Linked DNA regions of Homo sapiens: region 2 is linked to region 1. Evidence: promoter capture Hi-C in human tissues and cell types (Jung and others, 2019). All regions are on one chromosome and are shown on one strand. Each heading gives the region's core, a stretch centred on a gene start or on the middle of the fragment in contact. The rest is flanking DNA. Distances are from core to core; before and after follow the strand shown.

Evidence for each region. The method cuts DNA at HindIII sites, captures the fragments that hold promoters and counts their contacts. A contact is called where the count stands out against the background at its distance.
Region 2: a contact is called between a fragment that was not itself captured here and the fragment with the promoter of ZEB1 in region 1, in 3 of the 25 tissues and cell types used here (H1 embryonic stem cells, dorsolateral prefrontal cortex and lymphoblastoid cells).

The regions. Positions count from the first base shown.
Region 1 is chr10:31,317,682-31,320,580 of GRCh38, forward strand. It overlaps ZEB1 (zinc finger E-box binding homeobox 1), which reads left to right and starts at 1,535. Exons shown (of 9, transcript NM_001174096.2): 1 at 1,535-1,611. The coding sequence starts at 1,554. It overlaps ZEB1-AS1 (ZEB1 antisense RNA 1), which reads right to left and starts at 1,414. Exons shown (of 3, transcript NR_148979.1): 1 at 1,215-1,414. RefSeq lists silencers at 730-789, 1,530-1,979, 2,020-2,109. The HindIII fragment of the contact is 10,097 bases long and covers 1-2,899 here.
Region 2 is chr10:30,765,895-30,769,010 of GRCh38, forward strand. No RefSeq gene overlaps it. Among named protein-coding and RNA genes, the nearest start is that of LINC02644, 44 kb to the left of the region's middle. The HindIII fragment of the contact is 5,112 bases long and covers 1-3,116 here.

The sequences.
Region 1 (2,899 bases), core at 285-2,784:
TTCAGCTGTAAATTTATTTCAGTTGAAAGGTTTGAAGACATTATTAATGAATATTCTAAAATTCCGGAAGGTGTTTAAAAGATAATTTTAACCTAATAAAAAAATCCTGCCATAGAAGTGACAAAAATTATAAGCATAAATTTATTGAGCACCTACTATGTGTCATTGTGCTAGGTGATGTACTACGTTATTTCCAATACTCCGGTCACGTTTCAGTTTTCTCAATTTCTCTATCAATAACTGCTACATTGTTAATTTATAACTATATTACTTGAAATACAGCTCAGCTTATTTATTCCATAAAGTTGGTCCCAAAGACGTTTCCTTATTCGAAGGAGGTGGGAAGCAGGAAGGAAACCTAAATCTAAATTCTACTTAATACTGAAGACGACTTTCTTGATATTTGTGGTTATCTGTATGGTCTTTTCAGAAATCCCAAAACTTGTACCAAGTCAAGGATAAAATAAGATAAAATCAGCAATCTATCAGGTTCAGAGATCACATCTGTCAGCCGATGCTTCTTGCCTTAAGGTCCTGCACGGCGATGACCGCTCATTTAGGAAGGAATTCATGGCCTGTGGATACCTTAGCTCTGAGTCCTGCCACCTAGGATCCCACGGTTCTACGCGAGGAAGAGGGCGGGGAGCGCGGACCGGGTGTGGGAGGCCGAGGTGACAGCAGGTGAGGGCCGGGTGCGGATGGGGAAGTGAGACAAGCACCGTGTGGGTATTACTCATTCCGCTCTACTAAGGAGGCTGCTGGCAAGCGGAACTTCTAGCCTCTCTTTCAATCCAGCTGAAGTTCAATCTCATTGAAGTCACTTCCCATCCCGGTTCGCTTGGGGGGAAACCAGGCGTCCCTGGAAGGGAAGGGAAGGGAGTCCGGGCTGCGCGGGTCAGGTAGCCTCTCTCCGGTCGCCGCGTGTCCTCGCCGTCCCCAAACCTGCCCTTCCCCTCATCAAGGGAACTCCCCGGGGAGTCCAGACCGCGATCCCTTTCCTTGGCCCCGGGGTGCGGGGGGCGGACACGCGAGGCGTGGGACTGATGGTAGCCCTGCCTCCAGGAAGCAGGCAGGCGGGGACCTCTGGGCGCTCGGAGGGGCAGCTCCGAGGGCACAGGGTACAGGGAGAATCAGCCAGATCCCTCCCTGCCCCGGGCAGCCGCGGCGGGTGTGGCCAGCGCGGAGGCAGGACGCCGCCGAGCCTCCAACTTTACCTTTCCAACTCCGACAGCCCGTCGCCTTTCTGACCGCGTCCCTACGGTTTCCCGGCATCCGCCTCCCTCTCCCCACCACACCTGAGGAAAACTTTTCCCTCGCCCCTCAATTCAAATTCAGCAGTGCCCACGGTTGCCGCAAACCGCCCGGTCCCTAGCAACAAGGTTCCGGCCGTAGAGCGAGAGCCTCTAGGTGTAAGGAAGGTGATGTCGTAAAGCCGGGAGTGTCGTAAACCAGGTGCGGTGGGGAGGGGGGAGGGGTGGAGGCGGAGGGGTGGGGGGGAAGGGGGAGGGAGGGGGAGGAGGTGACTCGAGCATTTAGACACAAGCGAGAGGATCATGGCGGATGGCCCCAGGTGTAAGCGCAGAAAGCAGGCGAACCCGCGGCGCAATAACGGTGAGTGGCGGAGGGGACCGGGGAGCGGCGGAGTCAGGGGGAGCTGGGCAGCCGGGGCGCCCCCGGGGGTGAGGGGGGCGAGCCGGGCTGGGGGCAGCCGGGGCAGGGACGGCAAAGTGGAGTGGGAAAGTAGAAAGTAGTGCTCTCTGCCCCCCTCCGCTGCCGCCGCTGCCGGAGCCGCGCCGCGGCCGCTCGCTCTCCCTGAACCGTTATGTCTCTTACCTGGTCTCTCTCCGCCTAGCGGCTCCCGCCGCCCCTGCCGCCTCCCTGGACCGTTAGCCGGCGCCGACGCCGCCGCATCCCCGGCGCAGGGCGGGCGGCCGGGACGCACTGGCCACTTTTCTGGTCCCGGGTGGAGCGGCTGTTGCTTCTTTCCGCACTTTTCCCCACTCTTGTGCCCTTCGGCGCCTCCCTCTCCCCCTCCTCCTGGCCCCCTCAGCGCGATTCTCCCTCAGCGCCCAGGCCCCCGGGAGCCGCGGAACAAACTTGTGCCCGGCGCTGACCGTGCAAAGTGGCTTCCGCGCGCCGCGGCCCCGGCCGGCGCCGTCGCTGTCGCTCGGGCCCCGCGACTCGGGCCGGGCTGTGGGCGCGCGGCAGGCGGGCTGCGGCGGCGGCGGGACGGGGCGGCCGCGGGTTGCGTGGGGTTTGTGCGCGCGTGTGCGCGGGCGCCGGCTGTGCGCGCCGCGGGCGGACAGGGTTCGGCCGGCGGCGGTAAAGTTGGGACCCGCGGGCCGGGCGCGCTCGCGTAACGGGGATTAGAGGCGCGGGGGCGCGGGTCCCTAAGCGCCCCTCCTCCCTGGCGCCTCCCGCTGCCCGGCCCAGAGCCCCGGCCTGGGGACTCCGCGGCGAGCCCCGCGAGTGGGGTCCACGTTTGGCGGGGCGCGGCGGGGCGGCGCGGGGAACAAGGCAGGAAAGGTACCCACTTAACGCCGCCGGGAGCCGCGCGGATGGGGGCGAGCTGGGCGGCGGGTGTGTTTGCGGAGTTGTTACCTGGGCTTAGAGACCGGGAAGCACCACAGACAGATCCCCCTCCCGGGGCAGACGAGGTCTCTGCGCCGGGATGGGCCGGTGTGCGTGCGCCTCGCGCTTTTCTCTTTCGGTTTTTGGGGAAGTTGTTACCTGGGCCGGACGCACGGAGCGCTGAAGCCGGATAATGGGGCTTGGATGGCGCTCTGGGTCTCGGGTGGAAGGAGGGTGGGGGAGGGGGCGGACGGACCGACGGACGCGCGGGGCTGCTACTTGCACCGCAGCTGCAGTGTTTATTGATTTGTGCTGCTGTGCCAAGGGA
Region 2 (3,116 bases), core at 505-3,004, 550 kb before region 1:
ACCAGTGGGCAGAGACAAATAAAAGTGTCCATGTTCACGATGTGAAGGCAGCACTTAGGCAAAATGAGGGGGTTTTTTTTTAGACTTCTTTGAAATGCAACCAGGGAGAACCAAACTTCAGCCTTTCTGTTGGCCAACAAAAGGCCTGTGGTTGCCTTTCTGCTTCCACCCCTACAATTAGGGGAGAGGCCACGTTTCTTCCTGAAATGGGATCTACAGAGAGGCCCCTTGTTCCAGGCAGGACCCTGCCGGTAGCACTGTCAGGGGATAGGACAGCCCATGGAGGCAGCCAGGGTGAAAATGTGAGCAGAGACACCAGGAGGCTGGGACCCTTGGTCTTCCCCAACCCAAGGTGACATGTGACTGCTTTGGGGCTCCACTGCACACTCTGTCTGAGACCCAGAGATCCAGAGAGAATGATCGGAGCTTGAGATCCCTGGACATAATCCAGATTTGGGAGACCAACCCAAGGGAGAGTGAGAGACATGGGCTCATCTGCTGCAGCCCAAGAGGGTCACTGCATCAGCACAGAGCTGGCAGAGGGAGGGGAGTTTCTTCAGCAGTGGCAGCCTGGGATCATTTGTTTACCTGTTATAATGGGAGCTCACACCTAATTTTAAGTAAAAATGTGTGTTTTCAAGTTTATGGCCCTTCTTTCCCCAACTTCCTTAACTGTGCTGGTTGTTTTAGGGAGAATGATGAACCGTGTTGCCTCCTGGCCTGTGCCAGCTCCCGCCCTGTCCCCTCCCCAGCGCCAGCTGCCACCTGCACCTTTAATCATGTCAGGAGGGTCCAAAATGCTGACATCTGCTTCTGAAGTTCGGTTTTAAGTACTTTTTCAGAAATGCAGTTCAATGGACTCCACCTGAAATGTCATTTGGAAAATGCTTGGCATTTCTATAGCAGGGCATTTGTTCATTTTAGGAAAAAATTATGAAGGCAAAATAAAGACCAGACTTGTGGGCCAATTCTTAACGCGACCGCTTGCTAGCAGGAACAGCTCTCCCGCCTCCTCGTTCTCCTCCATCTTTCCTTTGTGGCCACAGTCCTGGGTTGTCACACTTCCACAATAGGGAAAAACAACCACCACTCGCATCTGCATATTTGACAACTCCAGCTTTTCTCCCCAAAAGGAACCTTAGCTCCAGGCGCTTAAACTGGCACCCTTTGCTTTACACTTTCTTTATAATACCTAGGGTGTAGAAAAACAGTAAAACGTTTTTATTGTTTAATTTGAAGCAATTATGATTGTATGTAATAGAATCCATTTAGTTCAGTTACTTAAGAGTTTAAACAAGTAACCAAATTTCTGGCAAATGGAGAGTGTGCAACAGGGAATTTCTGGGCCAAAGTGGCTAAAACAGCATTCAGGGATTGTCTCCTGCATGTGATCACCCTCCTCCACAGTGGAATTCACATAGGCCGTGACTTGGAATCTTGGTGTAATCATCATTTCTAAACAGTGGCTTGGACACCGAGATTAGCATTAATTTAGAAGAACAGAAGAGCAGATAAAATTGGGTGCAGGACTGGGCATGGTGGCTCACACCTGTAATCCCAGCACTTTGAGAGACCAAGGCAGAAGGAACGCTTGAGGCCAGGAGTTCCAGACTAGTATAGACAACATAGCAAGGCTCCCATCTCTACAAACACAGACACACCACACACACAATTAGCAGGGAGAGGGGCGTGCCTGCTGTGGTCCTAGCTATTCGAGAGGCTGAGGCACGAGGATCACTTGAGCCCAGAAGTTTGAGGCTGCAGTGAGCTATGATTGTGTCACTGCACTCCAGCCTGGGTGACAGCAAGACCCTGTCTCAAAAAAAAATTGGTGCAGCCAGAGAGCTACAAGAAAAACATAAGGTGAGAGTACAGAGTGATGGAACAGAAGAGGACTTCGTGGCAGGGTTACACAAAGGTCCCCAGCCCCGGGGCAACCTCCATGTGGTGCTTCACATGGGGCCTCCCGTGGGAACAGCTCAGGGGGGCTGGAAACCCCAGCCCATAGCAGGAACCCCATCTCATTACCTGCTCCCTAGCTCTCTGCTTCCTGCCTGCAGCTCTCAAACCCCTGCTGCTGGACTTCCATGTATGCGGTTCCTCAACGATCAAAGCAGGGTCTATTAGGTTGAGTCACCTTCCCCAGTGAGGGGCACCCCCTGGAGCCCCAGTGGAAAGCTGAGCTGGGCACACGCAGACCTGGGGCTTGGTCACTCTTTTTTTTTTAATTTCGTTTTATATTTTACCTTCATACCACAGTGAAGTCCATCCGTCATTCTTCGGTTTGGTGATTCTCTCTCTCTCTCTCTGTTTCTTCTGTATGCAATGTTGTTGACTTACGACTCTCAGAGCCCAGCTTGGATTTTCTAGAACTGAAGATCTATATTATTGATAGACCTCAAGGATTAACCTATAATGCTTTCATTTACATTTAAACTGGGCTATAAAGTTGCCTCAAATGCAACCCCATTGTGTCCGGAATTGGTGGGTTCTTGGTCTTGCTGACTTCAAGAATGAAGCTGCAGACCCTCGCGGTGAGTGTTACAGTTCTTAAAGATGGTGTGTCCGGAGTTTGTTCTTTCTGATGTTCCGATGTGTTCAGAGTTTCTTCCTTCTGGTGGGTTCGTGGTCTCACTGGCTTCAGGAGTGAAGCTGCAGACTTTCGCGGTGAGTGTTACAGCTCTTAAGGCGGATCGTCTGGAGTTGTTCGTTCCTCCCGTCCAGAGTTGTTCATTCCTCCTGCTGAGTTCGTGGTGTCGCTGGCTTCAGGAGTGAAGCTGCAGACCTTCACGGTGAGCGTTACAGTTCTTTAAGGCAGTGTGGACCCAAAGAGTGAGCAGAAGCAAGAGTCATGGTAGAGGGCAAAAGAAAAAAGCTTCCACAGTGTGGAAGGGGACCCGAGCAGGTTGCCGCTGCTGGCTCGGGCAGCCTGCTTTTATTCCCTTATCTGACCCCACCCACATCCTGCTGATTAGCCCATTTTACAGAGAGCTGATTGGTCCATTTTATGGAGAGCTGATTAGTCCGTTTTACAGAGAGCTGATTGGTCCATTTTGACAGGGTGCTGATTGGTGCGTTTACAATCCCTGAGCTAGACACAGAATGCTGATTGGAGT